Regions from separate parts of the Homo sapiens genome. Here region 1 is linked to region 2. The links are contacts of gene promoters, found by promoter capture Hi-C in human tissues and cell types (Jung and others, 2019). All regions are on one chromosome and are shown on one strand. The core of a region is centred on a gene start or on the middle of the fragment in contact, and the rest is flanking DNA. Distances in the headings are between cores, read along the strand shown.

The links. Contacts are between HindIII fragments. The study calls those that stand out against the background at their distance.
Region 1: a fragment that was not itself captured here is called in contact with the fragment with the promoter of NPBWR1 in region 2 in 1 of the 25 tissues and cell types used here (heart left ventricle).

Annotation. Positions count from the first base shown.
Region 1 is chr8:52,629,229-52,635,109 of GRCh38, forward strand. It overlaps RB1CC1 (RB1 inducible coiled-coil 1), which reads right to left. Exons shown (of 24, transcript NM_014781.5): 20 at 5,693-5,740; 21 at 1,242-1,300. Among named protein-coding and RNA genes, the nearest start is that of ALKAL1, 67 kb to the left of the region's middle. RefSeq lists an enhancer at 53-767. The HindIII fragment of the contact is 5,717 bases long and covers 630-5,881 here.
Region 2 is chr8:52,934,534-52,940,865 of GRCh38, forward strand. It overlaps NPBWR1 (neuropeptides B and W receptor 1), which reads left to right and starts at 4,649. Exons shown (of 2, transcript NM_005285.5): 1 at 4,649-4,833; 2 at 5,178-6,332. The coding sequence starts at 5,375. RefSeq lists enhancers at 4,824-5,455, 5,456-6,087. The HindIII fragment of the contact is 16,506 bases long and covers 1-6,332 here.

The DNA of each region.
Region 1 (5,881 bases), core at 2,238-4,737, 310 kb before region 2:
TTAGAAATAAAATACAAGAAGTTAAATAAAGGGTCTTAACTTTCACAACCTTCCTGTCAGGATAAAAGGCTGAACACTATTCATAAGTTGCTAACAATGCTTTTATTATTCCAGAGCTCCATTTAAATAACCAAAGCTAAAGAAAAATTTTAACTATGGGGTAATACAGTGCAGGAAAATTATTAAACCATTCAATTGATAAATTCTGTAAACCAAAAATAAAATTTGAAGCCCCCCCAACCAACCATCTGAATGAACTTCCTCCTCTAGGCCAGTGCCCTATAAATTTAACCTGAAAGACCGGTTCAGGCCATGACAAAAGGCAGGGGTTGGACTTGCCTCATCATGTCCTCTTCCCTCTTAGAATTCAGGAAAAGTCAACAAGAATTTAACACTAACACAGAGGTTAAGCCTGATAAGAAACATTTACAAACTATTATCTGTCAAGCCTGCTACCTGGAGGCTTCATCTGCATGACAAAACTTTGGTCTCCACAACCTCTTATCTTAACCTAGACATTCCTTTCTACTGACAGCTCTTTCAACCAACTGCCAATCAGAAAACTTTAAAAATCTACCTATACTTTGGAAGCTACCCTCCCAGCTTTCATTTGTCCCACCTTTCTGGACCAAACCAACTTGTATCTTCAATGTCTCATGTCTCCCTAAAATGTATGAAACCAAGTTTCCCCCTCACCGTCATCCAATCACCTTGGGCACATGTTCTCAGGGGCTCCTGAGGGCTGTGTCACAGGCCATGGTCACTCATATTTGGCTCAGAATAAATATCTTCAAATATTTTACAGAGTTTGACTTTTTCATTGACAATTTGTTTATTATGAATTTGTAGAATATTAATAAAATGAAATCTAAAAACTAAAAATGAGGAAACACTGCAACTTAAAAACAAATCAAAACTCTCCAATATAGATTAACAAGACTAAGGAGATAAATGGGATTTAAAAGAGGTAGCACATGCTGAAAAGTTAACTGGAGGAAAAGGCTTCAAGGATATTTATGTTAATCATAATGCTATAACTGGAAAGTTTTGGCAATCTAAATGTTTCCAGAATAACAATTTAGAAAAATCCTGCTTTCCAGTAAAAAACTTTTACTACTACTGAGTGCAAAACACTCAGCTCAATGAACCTGGACCTGAATTACTGTCACTGAAATACATTTTCATTAACAATTCAGTGAATGTTTTTCACAGAAAAATACTCACAAAACTAAAATACTTACTCTCTAATAGCTATCTTTTCAGAATGCCTTGAAGATACTGAAGACATGCTCTGAGACATCTAAAAAAAAAAAAAAAGTTTATGAACTTACACAATTTGAGTACCACATGCATTCTTACTGCAAAAATTTCACCCACTGTTATACACATTCAAGCCTGTGTCCAGCTTTAAAGAGCCCAAACTAATATAGTTCTTATGTTCATTAATAATTCCTTTATTTCAACCATTAGTAAATTTGGTTAGATTAAAAACTGATTTTTGAATCACATTTTATTTATATTACATATTTAATCTTAAAAATAAAACACAGAGAAAAGGACAGATTTTTCAAGAAGACTTTGAAAATTCTAATGCATTAGATTCAAAATCTTTCATTTTGGAAAAACAACAATGTTGGAAACAAGTGCTCAGTGTAGCCAAAAGAAACCCACACTTAGAAAATTTCTTGGCAAGGCAACTTTACTTCTGCAGAAGGCTGCTGCTCACAGCCGTCACAATTGCAAGAGAACACCAAACAAAGGAAGGAAGGGGTTTTATCTCTAATGCAGTTTCTGTTTCTGTGTCCTTCCCCTATTGGCTGGGGTTGGACCACACAATCTAAGCTGATCCCGGTTAGCTTAGACCTAAACTTTTTCCAAATAGGGTAAATGTGCGATTTGTGAGAAAAGGAGAAGGCAGAGGGGAGAAGGGGATGGGGTTGATTTACAATCTTACAACTTATGACCAGGAAGTTGAGTCTTTGAAGAGGAACTTAGTTGTCCCAACGAACAACAACAAAAAAACCAAAAAGATTTAAAATCTCCAGCCTGGGCAAAATGGTGAAACCCCATCTCTACCAAAAATACAAAAAATTAGCTGGGCATAATGGCAAGCGCCTATGGTCCCAGCTACTCGGAAGTCTGAGGTGGGAAGATCACTTGAGCCTGGAAGGCAGAGGTTAGAAGTATAATGCAGCAAGCAAAGACACCTGGTGACCATCAAACAGGCCATCTGGAGGCAGAACGCTGAGGAATTTAGAAGTAATTAAACTTTCCTAGCATGTGGTTACAGGTCTCTTTCAAAAATGTTGTAAGTAACTAGAATTTCTATACATCTCTGGAATGTATGCATGCCAAAACTCACTGAGCAACCCTTGCTGACATCAAGACACAAAAATGTCTACAAATGTAATCATTTATCATGACCTACACGGCCAACATTGGTCCAAACTACCTTTAAGATCCTGCCTTAAGGTCCATATATGCTCGTCGGGAAAATTCACCACAGCGTGCTCAGTCCTCTCTTGCTGAGGCACCCCGCTACACTCTTCAGCATCATTCGCTCTAATAAAACTTTCCTTTTTCAAACCTATACTGTTGTCAGTAAATTCTTCTTACCAAACCAGAGTCAACCACTTTGCAATGCCAGCGCTCTGACACCTTGCCTAGCAAACACTACTACTCTGGTTAAACTGGGGTGGGAGCATAAAGTTCTGAAGGCTGAGAACAAACCTCTTTTCTCATCTTCAATGAAACTTCTGAGATGTCTCAGTTTAAAAAAATTTGTGAACAATCACGAAACAATGAATTTTGTGATAGCCACCCACTTCCTCTACTGATGATGAGCACAATCAAATGGTACTTGCTAGCTGATAAGCTATAGCCATGGCTTAGCCGGGACTGTTCTCCTCTTCAAACAAGCTTCAATCCATTTATCCACACCATCTCATAAGACCTGAAGCATGGAAACCAAGGTCTTTGAAGCTTGAAAGGGTGATAAAAACACCTATTTTTCCCAAGCAAAGTGAGCCCAATGCATGGTTGCACAAACCAAGGACAGATAAGGATATTTTGTTTATTAAGTCAAATTTTGATGCTCTGAATTTCCTCCACTTCCCTCTGAACGCTATCTGGTACAATGCAGGGTTTTAAAAAGAGAAATAACACAACAAATAATAACTAGGAAGGCCTAAAACTGTATAGCAACTTACTAAAATTATCCAGACAAATGGTCTATATCCTGCCAGTGAAGATAAGATTGACCATCATTTTTAAGACCATAATTCAACTTTAGTTTTTTAAAAGCTTAAGTTTTTTATATATTACAAATGAAGACAATGGAAGAAAAAATTTGTTAATATAGCTGTAATTCTATGTGAAAGTGTGATTTACATTTGGACACCTTTCTGAATGTGACTGTGATGCTCTCTGGGTCTGAAAGACAATTTATTCTGTGAAAAGAAAATAAATCTTGGGAACCAAAAATCACTAAGGAAAAGGGAGGTCAAGCTGGGAACTACATCAAGCAAACCTGCCTCCCATTTTATTCCTAAAATAAGATAGCTACAAAGACCTCACAATTTGCCCACAAGAAAATTCCTTGTGGACAAAAAACAGACAGAACTTAAAGTCATCCCTCTGTTCCTCTGCTCATGTGAGACAAATGCGTATATGATTGCTTTCTCGGCCCCACTGCTTCACTAAGTCAGACTGAAGCATAAGTGACAATTCCTCTACCATCCTCTGACATGTAAATTGTGTATTCAGTGAAAGGCTAATCACAGTTTCAAAATAATGCAACCATTTGTCTCTTATCTACCTATGACCTGGAAGCCCTCTTCCCAGCTTTGAGTTGTCCCACCTTTCCAGACAGAACATCTTACACATACTGGTTGATATCTCATGTTTCCCTAAAATGTATAAAACCAAGCTGTGTCCTGACCACCTTGGGCACACGTCAGGACCTCCCGAGGCTGTGTCATGAGCTCGTCCTTAACCTTGGCAAAATAAACTTTCTAAATTGATTGAGACCTGTCTCAGATACTTTTGGGTTCACAATTAATCTACAAACATATGCCAAGCATCTATAGTATACCAGTTACCATTCTAGATGCTAAGAATGTAGCGGTGACCAAAACTGATTAAAATCGTTGCCAAACAGAGCTTATATTCTATTGAGGATAAATAAAGCATACTACATAAAACACGTATTGAGTCATGTCTGAGATAGACCATTCTTCTAAGTCTTTGTGATAAAATTAATGATTCACAGTATAATCACTACAAAATATGTGATTTTTGCTGTTCAAGTTAAGGTATAAAGAAGAAAGGAGATGTCTCACTACAAGATATTTTTATTTTTTAAACAAACTAAATTCTAAAAAGTATTTCAAAACTTTTCAAAAGCACTGAACAGAAGCCTTAAACTGTTCCTACTACCTTGTAAACTGTAATTAATAGAACTTGAAAAAATAAAGTTATTGCTTTATTAAAACATATAATTGGCTGTAAAATGGGCTGTTCAAATAATTGGTTAAATTCACAGGTTAAAGCCAAGGCAGTTTGGTTGGGTGCAGCAAAATTCCAGGCAATTCCAATTTGCCTGGAATCCCAGCACTTGGGGAGGCTGAGGCAGGCGGATCGCTTAAGCTCAGCAGTTCGAGACCAGCCTGGACAAGATGGTGAAACCCCATCTCTACGAAAACAAAAAAACAAAACCTAAAACCAAAACAAAACAAAAATTAGCTGGGTGCAGCGGCACTCGCCTGTACTCCCAGCTACTTGCTGAGCTGAGACAGGAGGATTGCTTGAGCCAAAGAGGTTGAAGCTGCAGTGAGCCAAGATCGCAACACCACACTTCAGCCTGGGCAACAGAGAGAGACCTTGTCTCGATTTTTTTTTTTTAATTAAAAACGAAACAAAACAAATCAATAAAAACCAGGGCAATTTACAGTACCACATGGGATCTCTTGCCTTTCAGGCACTTTCACTTAAAAATAAGATTCATGAAAAGGGCTGGGTGCAATGTTTCACACCTGTAACTCCCAGCACTTTGGGAGTCCAAGGTGCGCAGATCACCTGAGGCCAGGGGTTTGAGACCAGCCTGTCCAAAATGGAGAAATCCTGTCTCTATTAATTATGTAAAAATTAGCCGGGTGTGACGGCGCAGCACACTTGTAATCCCAGCTACTCGGGAGGCTAATGCACAAGAATCACTTGAACCCGGGAGGTGGAGGTTGCAGTGAGTCGAGATCACACCACTCCAGCCTAAGCTACAGAGCAAGACTGTCTTAAAAAAAAAAAATCATGAAAAGATACAATGTATTAAAATTACGCACACTTGTGAGTAAATATATTAATCTTCAAAAGACTTATGAAACATAACTCAAAACTGATTTTGATGATTTTAAGAATCTTAGGTGCTTCAACTGGTCAGACCTACAGCCGTAAATTCGCCAAGACATTATTTAATTTCACGCTAAGGAAAAAGTCTGACTCTACAGTCAGGAGATAACTCTGGCCTGACTTCAGCATTCTGAAAATCAATAGGATTCAATGACCAACACGGACCAACAAACCTACTATAGATAAGTCAATCAAAGCATACATCCTCTGATGGAATATCTTCATAATGAAATATAATGCAAATCATTTAAAAATGTTAAGACCAATTTACCAAGAAGAAAAATCTTACCAGTCTTTGATTTAACCGTTTATTTTCTTCTTCTTTCAATTGCAATGTCTGCAGGTGGAAAAAAGAGACCTGTGGTTTATCCTTGTACCTACTCAAATAAATCTAAACAGTGATTGTCAAAGTTTTCATCAGACAAAAATGTTTGGTTCGGGTATGAAAAGTTGATGGGGATATTATTTTCTATGAATT
Region 2 (6,332 bases), core at 3,399-5,898:
CTCAGCCTCCCCAGTAGCTAGGATCACAGGTGTGTGCCACCACACCCAGCTAATTTTTGTATTTTTTTTAGTAGAGACAAGGTTTCACCTGTTGGCCAGGCTGGTCTCCAACTCCTGACCTCAGTGATCCACCCACCTCAGCCTCCCAAAGTACTGGGATTGCAGGCATGAGCCACGGCGCTCGGCCAACATTAAATCTTAAGTCTTAAAAATAATCCTCTTTGGTTCCATGTCTCACTTCCAGACATACTGATGTGGTGAACCTGTCTCCACAGCTTTGGGTGGCCCTGCTCCCAGGGCAGCTTGATACCTGGCTTGCATCCTGGCTTCCTGGGGCTAGAGTCACACACTGGCTGCTTTACTGCTCTGGGTCAAGGGAGCTGACCTACCCCAGCTCTGCTGAGCGTTGGGCTTCACAGGGACTCTCTGTGGTGCCTCACACCCTCGGAGGCTTTTGCACTCTGCGCCTTTATAAGGGCACTAATTCCCTTCATGAAGGCTCTGTTCTCAGAACCTAGTCACCTCCCAAAGGCCCATATCCAAATACTATCAATTGAAGATTAGCTTTCAATATGTAATTTTTTGGGGAGACAAAAACATTCAGACCATAACAACCCTAATACTATCTATAACTACATTTAATATACTATGAACTCAATACTTCAAAGACATTGTCAGATTGGATTAAAACAAATGTTCTAATGCTTACATGGGACCCACATTAAATACAAAGACATAGAAAGATTTAAAGTAAAAAGATTTTTTAAAAAAAGCTGTTCCATGATAATATTAATGGAAAAACAGTTAATGTAGCTGTAATGATATCAAACAAAAGTGGCCACATACAGCAAGTAGGAAATGGCTGGGCGCGGTGGCTCATGCCGGTAATCCCAGCACTTTGGGAGGCCGAGGAGGGCGGATCACGAGGTCAGGAGATCGAGACCATCCTGGCTAACATGGTGAAACCCCATCTCTAATAAAAAATAGAAAAAATTAGCCAGGCGTGGTGGCAGGCGCCTGTAGTCCCAGCTACTCAGGAGGCTGAGGTAGGAGAATGGCGTGAACCCGGGAGGTGGGGCTTGCAGTGAGCCAAGATCGTTCCATTGCACTCCAGCTTGGGCGACAGAGCGAGACTCTGTCTCAAAAAAAAAAAAAACAAAAAAAGAGAAAAAAGAAATAGAAACCTAGTTAAAGATGTTATAATGATAAAAGGTAATATATACAGATAATATTATAATTATATGTGATATATTCTATATTATAATGTTAAATGTATGATCATTTGATAAAATCAAATAACATGATGATAAAATCATTATAATTAGGCTATCAAGATGAAAGGGTAAATTCCACAGGAAAATATAGCGATCTTAAACTCGTGTACCCTTAATAAAACAGCATCAAATTATGTAGTGAAAATTGGCCAGTCATGGTGGCTTGTGCCTGTAATCCCAGCACTTTGGGAGGCCAAGGCAGGCGGATCGCTTGAGGTCAGAAGTTCGAGACCAGTCTGGCCAACATGGTGAAACTCCATCTCCACAAAAAATACAAAAAAAAAGAAAATTAGCTGGGCGTGGTGGTGTGCCCCTGTAGTCCCAGCTACTCGGGAGGCTGAGGCAGGAGAATCACTTGAACCTGGGAGGCACAGGCTCCCACCACCACACTTCAGCCTGGGCAACAGAGTGAGTGAGACTCTATCTCAAAAAAAAAAAAAAGTAAAATTACGTAGTACAAGTTGACAGCATATAATGAAAGCGTAAGTAGAGAAATTCACACTCATTAATTGAAATTCCCCCCCCCCGTCCTTTCAGTAACTAATGAGACAGTTAGATAAAAATATCAGCAGAAGCCAGGCACGGTGGCTCACACATGTAATCCCAGCACTTTAGGAGGCTGAGGTTGGTGGTTCGCTTGAGCTCAGGAACTCAAGACCAGCCTGGGCAACATGGTGAGATCCTGCCTCTACGAAAAATACAAAAAATTAGCCTGGTGTGGTGATGCGCACCTGTAATCCCAGCTACTAGGGGTGCTGAGAGGGGATGATTACTTGTGCCCAGGAGGTTGAGGCTGCAGTGAGCTGCAATTGCACCACTGTACTTCAGCCTGGGTGACAAAGCAAGACCCAGTCTCAAAAAAAAAGAAAAAAAATCAATAGAGAAATTTGAACAACATAGTAAGTTTGACTAGTTGACATATGTAGAGTTTTGCACCCAACAAGTGCAAAACAATTTTTCAAGTACACATGAAATAATTAGAAAATAACTATATACTGGGGAGTAAGTTTCAAAAAATATCTATGAATTGAAGTCATATTGAGTATGTTCTCAGTTTACAGTGTAATTCAACTGGAAGTCAACAATAAAAAGGCTAGAAAATCTCCAAACGGTTGAAGATGATCAACTATATACATACATGTGTATATATACACATAAACATATATGGACACACGTGTATACATACGTGTATATACACGTATATACACATGTGCATATGTGTATACAAACATTCACACGTGTATACACACGTGTATAAACTATATACATGTGCATATATACACACATACACACATGTGTGTATATATGTGTGTATATACACACGTGTGTATGTGTATATACACGTGTGCATATGTGTGTGTATATACACACAAGTGTGCATATATGTGTGTATATACACTGTGTATGTGTGTGTATATACACGTGCATATGTGTCTGTATATACACGTGTGTATATGTGCGTGTATATATGCGTGTGTATATATGTGTGTGTATATACACGTGTGTGTATATATGTGTATGTATACACGTATGTGTATATAGTTGATCATCTTCAACCGTTTGGAGATTTTCTATTATATATATTTTTTCTTTAACATTATATGGTGTTTTATCATATAGTGTTTCTTACGGACATAGCTTAAGAATCATCTGTTATTTTGTTTCACAGAAAGTGTGAAACTGCAGGGGAGCCGATTTGTATAGATCCTGGTAAAAAGATAATTGAGTAGGTAAATTCCAGGGAGCTTTTGGACAGTGGATCCCCCTGTCAGTGGTTTTGGAGTCCCTAGTTTCAGTTACTCGTGGTCAACTGTGGTCTAAAAATATTAAACAGAAAATTCCAGGAATAAACAGTTCCTAGGTTTTCAATTGTGTTGACTTCTGATTGGCGTGATGAGATCCAGCCATCTTACTCCTTCCCACAGAAAGTGAGTCCTCCCTTTGCCCAGCGTTTCCCTGCTGTCTACAATATCCACCTGTTAGTCACTTCACAATCTGGGTTATTAGATGACTGTGGCAATGACCAGTGTGGTGTCTTCAAGTTGCCTTGATTTTACTGACTTTTTGCCCTTATTTCTCTCTGGCTCCAAAGTGCAAGAGAAGTGATGCTGGCAATTCAGATATGCCAAAGAGAAGCTGCAAATGCCTCCTTTAAGTTAAAAGGTAAAAATTCTGGACTTAATAAGGAAAGAAAAAAAATCATATGCAGAGGTTGCCAAGATCTACTAAAAACAAATCTATCCACGAAAATGTGAAGAAGAAAAAAGAAATGCATGCTAGTTTTGCTGTTGCATCATTTTTGGATGGAAGAACAGAAACATGTTCCCATTGACCGCAATGGGTACTATCCATGGTTTCAGGCATCCACTGGGGCTCTTGGAACCTATCCCCCATAGGTATGGGGGGGCTACTGTATTTCTGGCCCCACAGTCTTCTACTGCCGACTTTAGGTCTCTCTGGATCTCAGGCCCCCTTCTCTAAGATGCATCCTAGAGGACCAAAAATACACTTTATTTGGGCTTCGCCTGCTTTTGTGGAAGGGTAGTTTACTAGAGGATATAATCTCGTGTTTTAATTTGCTCTCTCTCCTAAAGGAAATGTGGAGAAAAAAAAAAAGCAGAAATTGGAAATAACCAATATTTAGTTTATTTCATTCGATTCTTAGGGGAACTGGTGAGGAGCCTAAGATGATTTTCCCTTCCTAGAGAAAGAATCCAAAGTCCAGGGAAATAGCGACAGGGGAGTTCAAGACTGCCCCTGCTAGTCCTTCCTTGGCTACTCTCCGCTGCGATCGCAGGATAGCTCTCATTAGCAGGAGAATCGGGCAAGTGTGTGGATAAGTAGAGAGTGTGTTGAACAACTTGTAACGTTTTATGAAATACGCATTGTCATGGTTCCCTAAAAGGCTTTGCGGAAGCCGTTTGTCTTTACTAATCAAGTCTTTACTTACACAAAAGTAGAAGTAGAAGTAGTTTTAGAAAACATACTAACAATCTTCTATCCCCTTGAAGACCAGAGTAGCAGAAAACAGGTGATTTGCATTATAAAATTGCACTCACTTTTTCCTCCTTTCAGATTTCACATTACATTAGCCTATTTGTGTTACGGTGTATAAAAAATGGAACAGGCGCCTCCACTACATTGTTCTCCTTTAAAAATAGATCACTTACACCCTAACTTTGTTTTCCTTAAATTCGATTCTTAACAGGAGAGCTTTCTATTATTTCAGATGGAGTGAGGTTGCACGACTGGGATGGAAGAAAGGAATCCCTTAAATTTGGGGGAATTTCTGTTCTCTGTTCTAAGACCATTTTACTTGGGGTGTGGGGGTGGGCGCGGCGGTCAGGGCAGTGGAACGCAGTCGCGGCTGCGCCATCCCTGCACTTCCAGGCGCGCGGGAGGGACCGGCGGGGACGCGAGCTGCGGACTCTGGCGAACTCGGGGGAGGCAGACAGGGGGAGGCGGACACCCAGCCGGCAGGCGTCTCAGCCTCCCCGCAGCCGGCGGGCTTTTCTCCTGACAGCTCCAGGAAAGGCAGACCCCTTCCCCAGCCAGCCAGGTAAGGTAAAGACTGCTGTTGAGCTTGCTGTTACTGAGGGCGCACAGACCCTGGGGAGACCGAAGCTTGCCACTGCGGGATTCTGTGGGGTAACCTGGGTCTACGGAAGTTTCCTGAAAGAGGGGAGAAGGGTTTGCATTTTTCCTATGGAGGATTCTTCTCTCTCTAGCATTTCGTTTGATGTATTCAACTGGTAGAAGTGAGATTTCAACAGGTAGCAGAGAGCGCTCACGTGGAGGAGGTTTGGGGCGCCGCGGCGCCACCCCCACCCCTCCTCGGGACCGCGCCTATTTCTAAAGTTACACGTCGACGAACTAACCTATGCTTTAAATTCCTCTTTCCAGCCCCGTGAGTCCGCGGCGACATTGGGCCGTGGGGTGGCTGGGAACGGTCCCCTCCTCCGGAAAAACCAGAGAACGGCTTGGAGAGCTGAAACGAGCGTCCGCGAGCAGGTCCGTGCAGAACCGGGCTTCAGGACCGCTGAGCTCCGTAGGGCGTCCTTGGGGGACGCCAGGTCGCCGGCTCCTCTGCCCTCGTTGAGATGGACAACGCCTCGTTCTCGGAGCCCTGGCCCGCCAACGCATCGGGCCCGGACCCGGCGCTGAGCTGCTCCAACGCGTCGACTCTGGCGCCGCTGCCGGCGCCGCTGGCGGTGGCTGTACCAGTTGTCTACGCGGTGATCTGCGCCGTGGGTCTGGCGGGCAACTCCGCCGTGCTGTACGTGTTGCTGCGGGCGCCCCGCATGAAGACCGTCACCAACCTGTTCATCCTCAACCTGGCCATCGCCGACGAGCTCTTCACGCTGGTGCTGCCCATCAACATCGCCGACTTCCTGCTGCGGCAGTGGCCCTTCGGGGAGCTCATGTGCAAGCTCATCGTGGCTATCGACCAGTACAACACCTTCTCCAGCCTCTACTTCCTCACCGTCATGAGCGCCGACCGCTACCTGGTGGTGTTGGCCACTGCGGAGTCGCGCCGGGTGGCCGGCCGCACCTACAGCGCCGCGCGCGCGGTGAGCCTGGCCGTGTGGGGGATCGTCACACTCGTCGTGCTGCCCTTCGCAGTCTTCGCCCGGCTAGACGACGAGCAGGGCCGGCGCCAGTGCGTGCTAGTCTTTCCGCAGCCCGAGGCCTTCTGGTGGCGCGCGAGCCGCCTCTACACGCTCGTGCTGGGCTTCGCCATCCCCGTGTCCACCATCTGTGTCCTCTATACCACCCTGCTGTGCCGGCTGCATGCCATGCGGCTGGACAGCCACGCCAAGGCCCTGGAGCGCGCCAAGAAGCGGGTGACCTTCCTGGTGGTGGCAATCCTGGCGGTGTGCCTCCTCTGCTGGACGCCCTACCACCTGAGCACCGTGGTGGCGCTCACCACCGACCTCCCGCAGACGCCGCTGGTCATCGCTATCTCCTACTTCATCACCAGCCTGAGCTACGCCAACAGCTGCCTCAACCCCTTCCTCTACGCCTTCCTGGACGCCAGCTTCCGCAGGAACCTCCGCC